Linked DNA regions of Homo sapiens: all the other regions are linked to region 1. Evidence: promoter capture Hi-C in 16 types of primary human blood cells and fetal thymus (Javierre and others, 2016). All regions are on one chromosome and are shown on one strand. The core of a region is centred on a gene start or on the middle of the fragment in contact, and the rest is flanking DNA. Distances in the headings are between cores, read along the strand shown.

Region 1 (4,410 bases), core at 1,386-3,885:
TTTAATACAACTGAACCATGCTTTAAAATGGTTAAGATGGAATGTATGCAGTATCTACGTCCTGCAAAGGCAGGGAGATGAGGGAAAGGAGAATATTTGCTGATCTGTTGAGTAGTTACTCTGGGTCAGACACTGAGCTAAACTTTTTAAGATTCATTTTAATCCTTATGCCAACCCTAGGCTTTATACCAACCCCTTTTACAGATGATAAACACTGAGGCTCACAGATGATGAGTGACTTGCCCCAGATCAAGGGGTTGTTAAGTAGCAGAACTGGGATTAAAACCCAGCTAGGCCTGGGACCCCAAAACCCAAGTGTCTGGCCAAAAAGCACTGAAATAAGAATGGCTATCTGAGAGAATAATAATGGAAGTTATGATAACAGCAATAAGCAGCATTAAAAGTATAAAGCAGCAGACTGTGAAGAGCAGATTTATATTTAAAAAATAGTTCTCACGCCGGGCGCGGTGGCTCACGCCTGTAATCCCAGAACTTTGGGAGGCCAAGGAGAGCAGATCATGAGATCAGGAGATGGAGACCATCCTGGCCAACATGGTGAAATCCCGTCTCTACTAAAATACAAAAATTAGCCACGCACGGTGGTGCACTCCTGTAATCCCAGCTACTCCGGAGGCTCAGGCAGGAGAATTGCTTGAACCCGGGAGGCGGAGGTTGAAGTGAGCCGAGATCGCGCCACTGCACTCCAGCCTGGTCACAAAGCAAGACTCCGTCTCAAAAAAATAAATAAATAAAAAATAGTTTTCAAATTGTAGTATAAAAAACTATTAGAGGTGCAAAGGACAATACAAGAGAGAAGCCATACTCCCAATATATTGGGGCAGTGGATGTAAAATAGATAGAAAAGGGCATGATGAAATATCACAGGACCCAATTAGACAGGAACTGCAAAGCATCTTAGTCTGTGCCTCATACATGAAGGTTCTCAATAAACAGAAAAACCATTTGTCCAGGTTTACCCAAGATAGGCCCTCTTTATGTCTGCTGCCCGGGCATAAATATTAATTATTTTCACTTTCCTTTTTTTTTTTTTTAAAGATAGAGTCTCACTTTGTCACCCAGGCTACAGTGCAGTGGCATGAACACAGCTCACTGCAGCATCAACCTTCCGGGCTCATGCAATCCTCCTGCCTCAGCCTCCCGAGCGGCTGGGACTACAAGTGCATGCCACCACGCCTGGCTAATCTTTGTAGTTTTTGTAGAGATAGGATTTCACCATGTTGCCCAGGCTGATCTCACACTCCTGAGCTCAAGAAATCGGCCCACCTCGGCCTCCCCAAGGGCTAGGATTACACAGGTGAGCCACCGCACCTGGCTCTTTTCACTCTTAAGTGTCCCAGTTAGCACAATAAATAACATGGTCACCCTTTCAATTAGGATCTGTTGACTAAAAGCAGCAGCTTGTCCATAGTAGAGCTGGATAAACAGTGCAGGTTCTCCGTCAGGGCTCTCCTCCTCTTCCCTCTACTCACTCTCCAACCAGGAGTCTAGGACAACCACAGGGGCCAGCCGTGGAGCAGAGTTGCGCTCTGTTAGGCCTTCCTACCAGACCCCAGCTCCACCAGCAATGGGGACTCCCACAGTCTCTTGGGGCAGGTCCATGGGAGGCCACTCTTGGCCATTATTCCCTGATTCATATCACCTTTGATGACAGTAGTAATAATGACACTAATGGCAACACAAGATCATTTTTTAAGCACTGATTATGTGGCAGGCACTACACCTGCCAAGCAAATGGCTCGACAGGCATCACCTCTTTTAATCCTCACCCCAACTCTGTTGGGTGGATATTACTAGCCCATTTTACAGATGGGAAAGCCGGTGAAATCACTTTACCAAGGTCACACAGCTAGTCAGTTTACAGGGCTGGATTTGAATCCAGTTTTGTCCAACTCTAGCCAAGGTTCTTAATCATTGCACTCCATTGCCTCCTGGGTGGCCACTATGTGACCCAAAAAGCAAAGTCTGGGCATACCGGCTACACTCTCTCCATAATGAAAACAAACTCTCAAACCAGAAGGAACCATCAGGTGCCCTCAAGGTCCCTGTTCTCCACCAATCCCCACTAACGGGATACTCCAAGTGGCCCCACCCTCGTCCTACTCTTTCAGAAAACTCCTTACCTGTTCTTCACACGCTCTACAAAGTACATGGCGCAATGCTACTGGCAATTGTGGTGCAGGTCGCGGCTCCCAGCCCTCCAGAGTGTCAGGTGGTGGGCCCCCCAGAGACCCTCTCCGAAGGAACCCACCCCACACACTGCCCCTGGCCAGACACCCTCAAGAGCAAACCCCAAGGCCGCGTTAGAACGAAATCCCACCAGCTGGAACCCCGGCCCGGTTACCACGACCACCAATGCCCCGGCCGCACCTGCAGCCGCTGAGCGTCCCAGGGACGGTGACGTCCTCTTCCAACACCAAGTCCATCATGGCTACAGAGGTGGCGACAGCGTTGGTGTCTGTGGCGGCGGCGCCACTAGTACCCCCCGCGATAGCGACCCGCCGGGCTCCCCAGGTCCCCGCCCCCTCCACCCCAGCTCTTGTTCAGACTCTGGCGGCGCCGCTGGAATTCAAACCACAGACGCCGCCATCTTTCCCGGCGCTTCTTCCTACGGAAACGAGGCGGGGTCACGGAGGCGCACGCAGTGAAGCCGACCGGCTGGCGCCAGAGGACGGGCAGGGAAGCGGGGATAGGTGCCATCTTAACTAAGGGCAAAGCATCCGTGCTTAAGCCAAGCAAAAATAAGAGACAAAAAAAGGCCGGCTGCCATTTTTTGTGAGGGCACTTAGGGAGAGGCGAGGGCGGGTGCCATCTTTGTTGAGGGCCAAAGCGGGCCCTAGTCCGTTAATTTACGCGGGAGATGGAAATGAATACAGCCACTCAGGAATCCTCAAAGTTCCTAACCTCGTGTTTGCTTTTCTAGAATAATGACCCCAAAACTTTGGGATTTGACCTTAAGTTGAAACTCAGATAACTGAGTGCTGCCTTGCTTTGGAAAAATACTACGTGCGGAATCTCAAGGCAAACAGTAATTTGCAGACTTAGTTTGAAGCAAATAACTCATTCCCATGAGCCAGTGGTCAACAGCACTCCCACTCCAGTCTCTCACCTATTGGTCTTTTATTACCATTAGGACTCAAAGGCACCTGTGGTCAGAAAACTGAGGGCCAGCAAGAGGAAAGGACTCTCCCAAAGTAATTAAGTATTGACAATGTCTTTCAACTGGAGTGGGGGTCTGCAGCTCCTGCCAACTAGATGAGGGCTCTCTGCATAACCCTGGCTGCCTTTCTTTTTTTTTTTTTTTGAAATGGTGCCTCTGTCGCCAGGCTGGAGTGCAGTGGCCCGATCTCAGCTCACTGCAACCTTCACCTTCTGGGTTTAAGCGATTCTTCTGCCTCGGCCTTGCGCCACCACACCCGGGTAATTTTTGTATGTTTAGTAGAGACGGGGTTTCACCATGTTGGCCAGGATGGTCTCAATCTCCTGACCTCGTGATCTGCCCACCCCGGCCTTCCAAACTGCTGGGATTACAGGCGTGAGCCACAGCACCGGCCCCTTGGCTGCCTTTCTTAAAGCACATAGCAATCACCAAACACTTAGATAATCTTGGCAGAGCTTAAGCAATGAAATTAACCTTCCCCTCCTCAACTCAGTGTTGCTCCTTCCTCTGCAGGCCCTTGTGAGAGAGCCCGATGAAAATAACTTGAAATGGTTGGTGAGTGGATAGATAGTGACTTTCCCAGTAATCTTGAACAATTCCCCTTTCACCCTGTTTCCTCATTCTTTTTTTTTTTTTTTTAAATAGAGACAGGGTCTCACTATGTTGCCCAGGCTGGTCTTGAACTCCTGGCCTCAAGCAATCCTCCCACCTTGGCCTCCCAAAGTGCTGGGGTTATAGGCCTGAGCCACTGCACCAGGCCCTCATTCTTCAGTTAAGTAATTAACCAATTATTGATACTTTTCAAAAGAAGCCTTCCCTAGTCATTTAATCTAAATCAAGCCACTTCTTGTATTCCTAGCAATGCAAATTATTCCTTTGTGGCACTTACCATATTTTGCAATTTGTGTGTGTGTGTGTGTGTGTAAAATCATTTTTTAAATGTCTTTCCTTGCACTAGACTGGAAGCTGCATGGGGCAGGGACTATATTCTGAATTGTTCACTGCTATATCCTCAACACCTAGCACTATGTCTGCCACTCAGCAGCTATTTGAAAATGTATGTTAAATGAATGAGTGATTCAATCAATCAGTCTGGAAATAAGGCCAATACCTATCCTGCAAGGTTTTTGTGAGAATAATCAGAGATACTTTTAGGACCTCTGTCAATAGTAATTCTGTGTATCCCAGATTCATATTCATTCTCTCTCTTTCTCTCTCTCTCTCTGTCTCTC
Region 2 (4,410 bases), core at 1,222-3,721, 620 kb after region 1:
TCTCTTGGATGAATGATGCTTACACATTCTCATGTGCTATCCACAGAAATATAAGAAACCATTTATACCACAACTCCAATATTTCACTTAATATCCACTAGAACTTAAAAGTATAATTTAAAAAAAATCCAATAAGTATTAATCTGAAAATTGTCAAACAAAAAAATCTTTATAAATTTAAGTTAAACATCACTATAGTCTCTTCTCCCCTTAAAGTCCCCTTCCCTGTTAACTGATCAAGTAAGTTACTAATGATCTACTTGTTCAGAACTCTGATATTAAACAGAATGGTATATAAAGGAACCACTTAATTTATAAACACAAAACAACGTTTTTACTCTACTTTAAATCAACAGTTAGCAGCGCAAAGAGCAATCGTATGATTTCCAAATCAATGTTGGAACTAGACTGAATCACATGAAACTGTTCTTCCTATAGATTTTTCAAGTCAAAGTTTATTGGCATTTTCATATAGCTCAACCTAATACAGGACTTGCAGATTATCACTCACACACACACACACACACACACACACACACACACATTTTTTGAAGACCAGGCTGGTCTTGGGTCTTGAACTCCTGGCCTTAAGCGTCCCTCCCATCTCAGTCTCCCAAAGTGCTAGGATTACAGGCATGAGCCACTGTGCCCAGCCAGATTAACAACATAGTAAGTGCTTCCCATACACTATTCTAGGGACTGAAAGAAATAATGTCATAAAATTGTACTTATGGTTGCAAAATTTGAAAGCTTGTGTATTAGAAGATATTTCAAAAGATCACAGCCCATTTCTTACCCTCAAATAGACTTAACCTAAAGAATTCTAATTTCTCTTCTACTTAAAAAGAAAACAAAAAACTTTCCAATTTATTCAAATGAATTATCTGAATGTGTAAGACACGTGCTAGGTCCTAGAGAGAAACAAGGGGCTGAACTGTAAAACTGGTAATAACTTTCAATAAAGTTTATTCTCAAACCAGCTTTCAGCTTAAGACAAAAATTATTTATACATATAAAGATTTCACCCATTTAAAAAAATCTGACTTACAGTATTTTTAAGCCTGGCTTTTAGTGTTTCTGTCAATGTCACATTACACAAGCCAGACATTTAATATGACTGGAGAAATTTATTTACTGAAATTATCACCTTACTATATACCATATTTCAAGCAAAAGTTCTATATAACAACATTGAACCCGTAGAAAGAATATATATTTAAAACAAGTGTATTATTATAAGGGAAGAGGAAGTTGTTAATTACAGTAAAGTATTAATCACTTCCACACACTACAGTCTTCTCACTTAGCTATCTGTATTACATTTAGTGAAAGTAGAAGCCTTGTTACCCATTCCAGTTTGGCATGTTCTAACACATTTATAATCAGTCTCCTGCATCACAGAAAACTCCCTTAACCAGTTCTTTCAGGAAAGGGAGTTTTTCTAGTTAGATTAACTGATTCTGAACATCACAACAACTTTATTCCCTTTTCCAGGCACTAGGAACTCAAAACTTTTAAGAATGAACTTGGTCCTGAGACTAAAACTGGTCTGGATTATTTACCTGATCTCTGAACCAGATGCCAAACACAAGGGGGAAAAGTAATCTCTTACATTAAAAATATTTAAAGATTATTAACTTCTTAACTTGAATTCTTCCGACTCTTCTAATCAATTTTTAATTCTTCTAAATTCTTTCCCCATTCAAACCTGGGTAAAAGTAATCACTTAGTCACCTTCAAATTACTGTCTCTTCTGTGCTCTTCTCCCTTGATTTTCCTAATTTCTTTCCCTCTTCTAACTAAAGGTTGTAGCTGTACATACTTTGCTCCTTCTATTTTATGTTAAAGCTATGACTTCTAACAATCCCAAATTTCTACTTCAAATGCTTTAAAGACTATCATAAAATTGTGACCCAATTTTAGTTGTACTAATTTGTGTACCTGCTAATTATCATACATTCATTAAATGTGAGATAACTAATTTTGAAAATGTATCTTAAAATTACAAACATTCATATAGTAGAAACTATTTCCAAATAAAAGAAATGATCACTATTTCGGATTTAATACCAGGGCTCTGTCTCACCACACCACACATTTTTCTTGCTCGTTTCTTTAAAAATTACAAATAAAAACCATAAAAGCAGAATTAAAGGAAAACTACTCAAACTTACTAATTTCAGTAAACAAAGGCAGAAAACATTTAACACTGTAGCCACCAACACTCACAACAGGTCTTCCCTTTCTTATTCTAAGAAGATACTGTCTAGATTTAAATATATTCCCATAGTTGACTGATATTAATACATTTCAGTCAAAAGTATTTGCAGTAGAATTATATTCAATACTAAATAGGCTTAATGTTGCTTTAACAAAAGATTTCTCAGTCTCATTTCTTGAACATGAAACATACTATTGTTAAGGTGAGGAATATATTTTTACCTAACTTTGGAAGGGAAAAAATTCTTCCCCTATTATTTAACAGTACTTTTGCTTTACTTAGAGAACTCTTGAGTCTAAAAAAAAGGACAGGAAATGCTGGTCTGGTTCAAACTCTGAAAACATGAGCCCACTTAACATTACAATCCCCATAAATGAAAAAAAAAATCCTGGTAATATTCTATAACTTGTATACAACTACCGGGACAATTAAAATTCACTTTATTCCACATTTTACAGAAAGTATTCGAATCAAGTTCATATGTAAGTAAAAGATCTTTATTGCCTTTAAAGGAAAAAAAGTACCACATATTTAGACAACAGGCATTTAACACATAATCAACAATTTGCAAACTAATAAGAAATACAATTGTGAGTTACTATTTATTGGGTACTTGACATATGCCGGGCAATGTGCTAAATATTTTACATACAATTTCATTTAATCCTTACTACTATCCTATAACATAGTTAATTATTATCCTCATTTTACAGATGAGGACACAGACTCAAGAGGTAACATGCCCAGGTCACACAGCCAAGTCTGTACTGAACCTAGGACTGTTTTAACTACAGAGATCCCCTCTTAACCACCACACCATCCTGCCCTCTCCACCGTCGTGCCTCCTCCACATGGTTATCAGCTGTACCATGTAGCTCTGCAGTATTCACTCGCTTAATTATAATTTAATATTCTGAATAAGATACATGAATTACATTCAGAGGATGCACTGCAGTCAGAATTTATAGATATAAATGACTGGTAATACTAGTAATACTAACTTATAATACTATAATTCATTTACTTAGAAAAAGTTTCTTGAGAACACTTGAGAGTAAACCATGTAATGATCTATACTACTTTTTATAATTCTTACTTAATTCTCACAACTCTGCAGAGTCATTATCATTATGTCCATGCAAAAAATTAAAGAAACTGAGGTTTGGAGAAATTCACTCATTTGGCCAATGTTATAAAGTTTGTAAATGGTAGACCTAGAACTTGAACCCAGGCCTGATTCCAAAGACCATGATTTTCTCTAAGGTATTATTAGCTTATTTCAGGTATGTACAGGTAGACTGATAAAATAAAAATCAGAGAAAGAGGAAGGATATTAGTGCATGTAAAATTTAGCTATAAACTACCCTTGCTGCCAAGAGAAATATTTACTAAATGCATAGTAAACACTAACAACTGTGCCATGTATTCAACTGACTCCTTAAAAATATTAATATGCTTAATATTGCTTTAATAAAGGATTTCTCAACCTCATCTCCTGAACATGAAACATACCAGTTTTCACCACTGGGGAAACATACCATTTCACCACTGTGAAAATATACCATTTTTCACCACCATTTTCACCACTGTTAAGGTGAAAAATGTATTTTAAAATGGGGTACGCCATCTTGTAAAATTCTGCATATTTCTTTTACTCAACAAAATGATAGACACATTTTCATGTCAGTACATTTAGATCTAAGTGGTTACTGAACAAATATTAAACACTAATTATTGTTGTGACAAAAATAGAATGCATGGTTTCTATTTACTGAATCAGACACCTTTCTAAGATTACACAGACATATAAACGACTAGTTTTGAAACATGTAGGTACAGATGTGAAGGTATACACTTTCATACATACTGCTTGTGGAAATGTGCCAACATTTTGGAAAGTAATCAGTATGTTTAAAAATCTTAACAATAATCCAAATCATCCTTTGGCCCAGAAAGTATCCTACATATACAAAAGCTTCAGCCCATAAGGCTACAGGTATTAGTGCATTTAATGCACCATTTTTACAGCAAAAAACTGGAAATAATCAGCAAAGAAATGACTGAATAAAGTACATCTATAATACAAAATAATATCCATGTAGTTTAGAAACCATTTTGATTGATATGCATTAACCTGGAAATACATCCATGATTTTGTTAAGTGAAAAAACACATGTTGCAGAGTTTTA
Region 3 (4,410 bases), core at 587-3,086, 610 kb before region 1:
GGAAACTTGGAAAGATCTCAGCCACCAGGCTGATGACTTCAATGCTAGAAGAATGATACTTTGTTATTGGACATCTCTTTAGAATTGCTCTTCCTGGTTTCTTTCATGGGCAACAAGTCCAGCCACTAGCAGCCGTGGACTTTCAAGTGAACAAGAAATAAGCTTTCACCCCATTTAAGCTACTCTGTAAGCACTCTCAGCTGTGCCTAATCATAACTGAGACCAAGTTCCTCTAATTCCTGACATGAATTCTACAGGGTGGGAGAACTGAGTCCCAGAAAGGGGATGTCCAAAATTCGTAATTAAAATTGAAAAATTAAATTAAAATATAGCAGGCTTCCCAACTTCCAGCTTTCACTATATTCATTCTCCTACTCAATAAACTTTTCTTGAACACAAACACTGTATCAGGCAGTAAACAGGTACTGAGTAAACAGAGCTGAGTAAATCAGGTTACTCTTGTCGGGAGCTCACGATCAAGAGAACAAATAGTAAAATTACAGTCTGAGAAGTGTTATACACATGCACGCACACGTGCACACGCACACACAAGGTAATGTAGGAACCCAAAAGAGGGAGGAGCATCTAACTGCTCTCAGGAGAGAATTCACAAGGGAGGCAACACTGGAGCTAAATCCTTAAGAAAGAATAGGAGTTTTCCAGTTGTGGAAGGGGGAAATGGCATTTTAGGCAAAAGTATGCAGGCCAGAGAGAACATGGAACAGGTGCTAGGCATAATAATGTCCTCCTAGAGATGTCCAAGTCTTAATCACCAGAAGCTGTGAATACATTGCCTTCCACAGGAAGTGGGGATTAAGGTTGCAGATGGAATCAGGGTTGCCAGTCAGCTGGCTCTGAAATGGGCAGATTAGCCTCAATTATTCAGGTGGGTCTAATATATAATCACAAGGGTCCTTAAAGCAAAGGAGGAAGCCAAAAGCTGATCATGGTTGAAGAGTAGATAAAGTGTATGAAAAGAGGTTGCAGATATGGGGGGGTCCATGACCATAGAGGCTTAAATTTCAAGGCAGACATTTTGAAATGCATAGGCAATGGGAAGCTGCTGAAGGATTCTAAGGAACGAGTGAAGTGGTCAGATTGCATCACAAAGAGGTCGCCAACTGGTGCAGAGGAGGAACTGCCAGAAGGCAGGAAGACTCCTGGAGAAGAAGTTGCAGTGGTCCTAGTGAGCCCCCCTGGTGAGCTGGGGCCACAGGGGGGCTGCCTCCTCTGGGCCCTTAGGACCCATGGGCCCTCCGCACCACAGCACTGGCTGCCAGGGGCCATGTTATGTTCCCCACTCCTTTCCTAGTGTCCTTCTGGAGGCAGCCTCTGCAGTGAAAAGCCGGACTAGAAGAGAGGTGGGCTTGAGACCTGCTCTACCATTTACTAACTCTGGGGCCTGAACCAAGTTACCTCACCGCTCCGCGCCTCAGCTTCCTCATTTGCAAAGCAGTGATGACAATCCTCTTTCAGGGTGCTTGTTTGGCATGACACTTACCAAGCCTCTCCATGCTTCCTATGAATGGCTGCATCATCCCGAAATGCTCCCTGCTGAGTAGACTATTCTCCCCGTGCTTTTAAGACTCCCACGTTGATTTCAGGAGGAAGCAACCAAACTGCAGACTTGGCCCTCGAAGCTCTCTGGAGCTGTGCAGTCTCCGGGCCGGTGTCCTGCACTATTGCTCAGAAGGCTGGGCGCCATCTAGAGGGCAACAGCGGCAACAGCCAGAAGGCAAGGAAAGCCGCAGTGATTCCCAAACATAACCAAAGGGGATGCGGGGAAGCCTGCTTCTGGCTCTGTGGGTGGATTCTATAATAAAATGAAATGTGAGATCATAGAACCTTTTAATTCTAGCATGTAGGAATTATGAAATTATAGAAAAATTAACTCTCTAAGCTATAGGGGTGGAGTCTTAGAATCACACAGTCTTTGACTTTTAGAAATAGAGAATGCAGTATTTCTAGTGTCTTCAGTTCTTATACCCCTGGGTTACCCCTTGCCTCAATAGAGTACAAATTCAAACTTTGAACATTGACACCCGGATCTCAGCCTCCAACACCTCACCTGCTTGACCGCAGCTCCTCCTTTTCTGACCAGTCACCCCCAGAAACCTTCCAAGGATGGCTCACCACCAGCCTCTACTGCCAGAACAAAAGCCCCTTGATGTCAAGGACTATGCCCTTCACCTCCTATCACCGGCACAGGGCCAGGCTCACAGTGGTGCAGGAAGGCAGCATGATCCCACTGTCCTCAACAGCAGAAGCCTATAGGTTCAGATCCCAGCTCCACTACTGGCTAGCTGGAGCATAACTTAACTTCTCTGGGCCCTTTGTTATTTATCTGTAAAATGGGAAATATCATAGTATCCACCTCACGAGGATATTAGGAGGCTAAGTTAACATAATCTATAGAAAGTACTGAGAAGGATTTCTGATACGTGATAAATGCTCGTGATAAATGCTTGGTAAATGTTAATGGTTTATTTTATTTTATTTTATTTTATTTTTTTAGATGGAGTCTCACTCTGTTGCCAGGCTGGAGTGCAGTGGCACGATCTCGGCTCACTGGAACCTCCGACTCCCTAGTTCAAGCGATTCTCCTGCCTCGGCCTCCCGAGTAGCTGGGATTACAGGCACACGCCACCACGCCCATCTAATTTTTTGTATTTTTAGTAGAGATGGGGTTTCACCATGTTGACCAGGATGGTCTCGATCTCCTGACCTTGTGACCCACCCACCTCGGCCTCCCAAAGTGCTGGGATTACAAGTGTGAGCCACCACACCTGGCCAATGATTCTGTTTTTGTTTTTTTTTGTTTTGTTTTTTTTGTTTTTTGAGACAGAGTCTCCACTCTGTCGCCCAGGCTGGAGTGCAGTGGCACAATCTCGGCTCAATGCAAGCTCCACCTCCCGGGTTCATGCCATTCTCCTGCCTCAGCCTCCCGAGTAGCTAGGACTACAAGCACCCGCCACCACCCCTGGCTTTTTTTTTTTTTTTTTAGTTGAGAAGGGGTTTCACCATGTTAGCCAGGATGGTCTCCATCTCCTGACCTCGTGATCCGCCCGCCTTGGCCTCCCAAAGTGCTGGGATTACACCCAGCCACCGCGCTCAGCCCAATGGTTCTTGATTATCATTAAAGTTGGGTTGAACTCTATGGGCAATATGGCAGCAAGGTGCCTTAGTTCGGAGACCTGACCAAACAGTGAGGGAAGCAAACAAGCAGGAAGAGGACCATTGGATATTGAGCACCCATGTGTGACAGGCGCATGCTAGGTGCCTTGCGTGTGGCTTATTAACTTCTGAAGGCAGGGCTTATGCTGTGTGCCAGCAGCTCAGTGCCCTGTTCTTGGACATTCTGATGTACCTTCCCTTCTTCTTTCTCTGTCATCTTTTGCTTCTCCATAAAACTTTCTCTGTCCCTCCAGGCTCTGGTAGCTGAGGGATTATCTCATCTCTCATTAACATAAAGGGAGTTAATGTCCAGCAATTAGCTAAAGCAAAGATAAAGAAAGCTTTCAATTCCTGTGCTGATTCCAATTAGTCTTGGCTGCCTGGAGTTCTAATCCGAGAAGTTACCCAAGGCCGTGTTGGTGTCCATGCATAAGAGTGCTGAAATAAATTGGTGATGTCTGCCTTGAGATTGGTGGGAATGAGTAGCAGTATGTGCGCCTTATACCCACCAGACCTCTTTGTGAAGAGGTCGGAAGATAAACAAGGTTTTGCCACTTACTCTATCACAAGTGTTTTAATTTTATTCATTAATCACATTTAATCTTCATAACAGTTATGAAGTAGGTGTGTTATCCCTATTATATAGATAAAGCAACTGAGGACCTAAGAGGTCACTGAAGAATTCATGTGAGTAAATCAAAAGTGTTTGCATTTTAAAGGAAACTTTAAATGGCTTTACTCAAAGGTATGGGGAAATTCTAGGCATCCTAGCCAGTCGGTGGGAAGAAATGTTGATGCAGAAAGTGTTTCCAATGCTCTGTAGATCACAAGGCATACAGTGTTATCCTCAGTCCTTTACACACCTTTGCTGAGAATGATTAGAAAATAGGCACAAAAAATGTTAAACTGCAGATGCATCTCACTTTAAGAATATACACACAGTACAGAAGCCCAGAATTCACACTGGCCAGGTTAAGGGCTGAACCTCCATTGAACAAAAGGATCTCTCTATAGACCAGCTTTCGAAGACATTTGCAGGAGGACCAACTTTGCAGGAGAGTCAGGCCAGTGGGACAGCACTGAGCCAGCAGACATGAGACCTGGGTTCCAACCTCCCTTTACCAGGAACAAGTTCTTCCCCTTCGTGGCTTTTTGTATCTCCATCCAAACCATGAGGAGGTTAAATAAGAACTATTGATCTCAGTATGGGCAACTGTACCTCTAAAGAATGATTTA
Region 4 (4,410 bases), core at 1,313-3,812, 540 kb after region 1:
GGCCGCATGGTATATTTATTTTTTTTTAAGTGGTTGAATTTCATTGTATTGCAGAGCAAGGGAGATTTGCTCCTTACCTTTCTCTCTCCTTGCCTTTTTTTCATCTTTCTTTCTCTCTCTCTCTCTCTTTTTTTTTTTTTTGCTCTGTCGCCAGGCTGGAGTGCAGTGGCGCAATCTCCGCTCACTGCAACCTCCGCCTCCCAGGTTCAAGCGATTCTCCTGCCTCAGCCTCCCGAGTAGCTGGGACTACAGGCACCCACCACCACGCCTGGCTGATTTTTGTATTTTTAGTAGAGACAAGGTCTCACCATGTTGGCGAGGATGGTCTTGATCTCCTGACCTTGTGATCCACCCACCTCAACCTCCCAAAGTGCTGGGATTACAGGCGTGAGCCACCATGCCCTGCCGAAGCGATTCTCCTGCCTCAGCCTCCTGAGTAGCTGGGATTACAGGCGCGCACCACCACACCCAGCTAATTTTTGTATTTTTGGTAGAGATGGGGTTTCTCCATGTTGCTCAGGCTGGTCTCAAACTCCTGACCTCCTGATCTGCCTACCTTGGCCTCCCAAAGTGCTGGGATTACAGTCATGAGCCACCATGCCCAGCCCTTCATCTTTCTTAAGAGCAGAAAAAGCTGAAGGGGGTTGCGAGTCCTTTTTCTACCTCTTCTATTTAATCCTTTTTGCAAATTTTCCACTGAACGTATTTGTTTTTTCATACTGTTTTGTTTTGTCCTTAAAAAAGGAAACATTCTCTGGAATGTTTCTTCCTGAGATATGGCTAGATATGGTCAGGTGGCTGGATACAGCCAGGCTCTTGTCTCTGTCTCTACTCTAAGAAGTTGTACTAATTGCTTATATTTTAGCTAATATTCCTAAAATACAAGGAAAAATATCTTCTACATATTCTCCTGGTATACCTTGAATAATAGGGGTTTTTTTTTTAAAGAACTTTAAGATCTCTGGATTAATAGAAATCATAGAATTTAACATAGTAAGGATATTGTAATTGCTTTAAGTACTTGACAAGTTGTTTAACTGTTCCTTTAAGCATTTTAGTACATATCATATATATTTTTTTGTGGGCCAGCTAATTTCAATAAAGGATAACCTTATGACAGATATAAGGTCTTTTCTAACAAAAGCCTAAAAATTGAAACCAAGGTATTAATATTGAAACCAAAAGTAGTCTTGATTATTTTAAATAATTTTGAGGAAAAATGGGGTATTTTAAGTAATGTATAATGTGGTCAATAATATCTTACTTTATTGCATATGTTTGTTCAATCTCCCACCCATGTAAGGTCCCTGAAGACATGAACTCTATCCTACTGGTATCCGTATCCCCAGGGACCAACCAGCCCTATGTTTATGAATGCTTGCATTGTGGAAGGGAGGAAGGAAGCAGCTTATAGATCCTACCCAAAACTCCTTTGCTTCCCCTTCCAGTTCTGTGATCTATGAGTCTAATTAGTAGCTGGATTATGTGTTTGCTTTCAACAAATGACTGTTATATTTCTGGCGGACAGAGAGTTCAATTCCCACTGGATTTCTGTAGAGAATTATACATGGAAAGGAGGTAAATGAGACATGGGAATGGCATCCAAGTTTTGAAGTTAGCTAAAATCAACCTGTGCAGTGGGGATGAAACATACAAACCAGATTTGAATTTCCTTTTTAATTTTATTAAAATTACTAATAGTTCTTAAGTTTGCAGCCTTAGTCCTAGCATCAGAGGACATCTCTTTTAAGTTTATCCAGCGGGAACATCTTTTTCTGATTCACAAAGTTTCATATTGGCTAGTGTTTGGCATCCCATTTTAGGCTACAAAATGTGAGCCTTTAAGCAGAAGAGAAATAATCAAGAGTGAGATGCCTGCATATTTTTCTATAGATATAGGTAGACTTTTATTTAATTAATTTTTATGTAATCAGATGAAGTATCTTTCTGAATAGCCAATAGAATTTAAAAGTAAAAGCTTCACTTTGATGAGATATTATAGAAAGCAACATATTAAGTGCCCACAATGTGTCATACATTGTGCTGTATTTTCCATGTTCTGGTGAGGAACTTTTATTAACATCTATCCATTTTTCTTTCAATTTGCAGAGGATGAAAATGTGATATAGAAATATTAAGTGAATTGCCCCTAAGTTATTGTTTTAGAAAGAGGTGGAGCCCTTGCTTATGCTACCACAATGACCCTCTCTTCACAAAGCAATTAAAGGTCTAAAGAGATTATTTTAAAATTAGCTCAGAACTAAGCCTAGGCAGGTTTTCAGCAAATATAAGCATTTAACTAGGTTTCAAATTCACAGACTATTTTAGTTATAAAATTATTCATAGAAGCACAAATTATCACCGGAGCAAACATAATGAAGATTTGTATTGCTTTTCTCTATTGGGAAATGTCCTATTGGAAGCAAAAGGTAACTGTTCGCTAGAGGGAACGAGCTGTAGTGATCTGTTGCAAAGTTTGGGCGTGATTGGCCCCTGGGAGCTTCCTGTGTTATGATTTAACTCGCGGAGGGTGGGGCCTGCCCGCAGAGGCTGCTGGTGATTGGATGGGCGGGGCCGCCGCTCACTCTTGGCCAAGAATGTGGTTTGAGGCTCTGCGAAGTTACAGAGGCTCGGAGGCGCTTGCAAAAATGTGGCTGTCAGAGAGGGAAGTGCACATGAATTTGAAGACAGCATTAGAAAGCGTTCCGCCCACAGTTTCTCTGTTCTCAACGGCTCAGTTTTAACAGGATAAATTTTAAGTTAAGGTATGATATTTTTTCTCTCTCTGTACAAAGGACTTAAAAGGAGGAGGAGTCAGAGATGTAAGTTCCTGTTTTTACAATAACTCTTTTGTGAGCTCCACCGTGGTGTAAATCGCAGAATCTACTTTTGTTCCCATGTATTTAATGTACACCATTGGCATATTGAACCAGATTTTTATCCTGCGTATAAAGGTTTTGGTGGAATTTTTAATGGTGAATTTTAAAGATTTATTGATATGAGTGCAGTCTTTTAAGAAATTATTTCTTGAGCCATAAAAACCCGAAATTTACTTAGAATGTAAGCTGTTATATGTAGTTAACTTTTCAGAAAGATTTCAAATGGGTATTTTGGGAGTGTAGGGAAAAGAGTTTGCAAAATACCATAAAGCTTTACCAGTAGTAAATTAAAAACCTTCCAGTTAAGCTGCCACTCTTTTGTTCATCAGAAATGAAGAGACGTTTCTTTCTTGTATTTGGGGTAAGCAAATACATAAAATTGAGTAATATTCTTTTATAATCACATGGGTCTTAGACTTGAGATCATTGGTGTTCATTTTTCTGACTGATACAGTTCCCTCTTTCGATAACTTTCTCTTCATTTATTGTTGTATTCCTCTGATCCTGTGGGTACCAACTTAAGAGTCATGAAGGTGTGAGTGGGAGGGCAAAGGTTCTCTGGGGAATTATTTTGTCTCCATATGAACAGTTGCCTCAGGAGACATGCAAGTCATTTGATGGATCTGAAATTCAGTTTTCTCATGTTTAAAAGGAAGGGTTAGACTAGATCATTGGCTCTCGATTTGCTTTCCCTAGCACACCTGAGAAATACAATCCATTCTTTTCAGTTAACAGTAGTTCCCTGATGCCATGACTTCAGGGTGCGGGAGGGTGTGTGGGTGTGTGAAAGCTCTGTTTTCCACCATGGGTTAAGTGTAGTTGTAGAGGGGTATACCTCCTTAGGGCCCTCCATTTTGAGACTCACCGGGCTAAGTGGTCTTTGAGGTCCCTGTCAGCTCTCAGTTTATTGAAAAGCCAAATGTTTGTTTGTGTAAGAGATTGAAAGTGAATTTGAATTTCAAGTATTTTATCTATTTCATACCTCTATTTTCTTCTAAGAAACCTTTTTTAAAAAGTAGATTTAATTTTTTTATTAAAAAGGCATTACTTATCTACTATAAAAGTTTTTTAAATATAAAAATACTCATTACAAAAGGAAAAAATCCCCATGTAATCCTTCCACCCAGGTATAATTCTTGTTAGCATTTTGGGATATAGTTTTTAAGTCTTTTTCTATAGATATATGCCATAACCAACTAATTTTGGAAACCTTTTTTAAAAGACACATTTTAGGCTGGGCACGGTGGCTCATGCCTGTAATCCCAGCGATTTGGGAGGCCAAGGCCGGCAGATCACTTGAGGTCAGGAGTTCCAGATCAGCCTGGCCAACATGGTGAAACTCCCGTCTGTACTAAAAAAAACAACAAAAAGTAAAAACAAACAACAACCTGGGTGTGGTGGCCCGCACCTGTAGTCCCAGGTACTTGGGAGGCTGAGGCAGGAGAATTGCTTGAACCCAGGAGGCGGAGGTTGCAGTGAGCTGAGATCGTGCCTCTGCACTCTAGCCTGGGTGATGGAGTCAGACTCCATC

Evidence for each region. The method cuts DNA at HindIII sites, captures the fragments that hold promoters and counts their contacts. A CHiCAGO score of 5 or more calls a contact.
Region 2: a fragment that was not itself captured here is called in contact with the fragment with the promoter of CDK5RAP2 in region 1 in 4 of 17 cell types (naive CD8 T cells, naive CD4 T cells, activated CD4 T cells and 1 more); the score reaches 8.9 in naive CD8 T cells.
Region 3: a contact is called between a fragment that was not itself captured here and the fragment with the promoter of CDK5RAP2 in region 1, in 1 of 17 cell types (M1 macrophages). The highest score is 5.2, in M1 macrophages.
Region 4: a fragment that was not itself captured here is called in contact with the fragment with the promoter of CDK5RAP2 in region 1 in 11 of 17 cell types (total CD8 T cells, naive CD4 T cells, fetal thymus and 8 more); the score reaches 12.0 in total CD8 T cells.

The regions. Positions count from the first base shown.
Region 1 is chr9:120,577,532-120,581,941 of GRCh38, forward strand. CDK5RAP2 (CDK5 regulatory subunit associated protein 2) reads right to left here and starts at 2,636. Exons shown (of 38, transcript NM_018249.6): 1 at 2,389-2,636. The coding sequence starts at 2,447. RefSeq lists enhancers at 2,308-2,870, 2,724-2,853. The HindIII fragment of the contact is 6,111 bases long and covers 1-4,410 here.
Region 2 is chr9:121,193,587-121,197,996 of GRCh38, forward strand. The region is part of intron 1 of RAB14 (RAB14, member RAS oncogene family); the gene reads right to left. Among named protein-coding and RNA genes, the nearest start is that of RAB14, 6.1 kb to the right of the region's middle. The HindIII fragment of the contact is 3,446 bases long and covers 749-4,194 here.
Region 3 is chr9:119,967,593-119,972,002 of GRCh38, forward strand. It overlaps LOC107987122 (a long non-coding RNA gene), which reads right to left and starts at 1,953. Exons shown (of 3, transcript XR_001746919.2): 1 at 1,502-1,953. RefSeq lists an enhancer at 770-1,270. The HindIII fragment of the contact is 3,353 bases long and covers 161-3,513 here.
Region 4 is chr9:121,119,187-121,123,596 of GRCh38, forward strand. All of the region lies in intron 12 of CNTRL (centriolin), which reads left to right. Among named protein-coding and RNA genes, the nearest start is that of CNTRL, 46 kb to the left of the region's middle. RefSeq lists enhancers at 2,229-2,730, 2,605-2,654, 2,685-2,884. The HindIII fragment of the contact is 1,172 bases long and covers 1,977-3,148 here.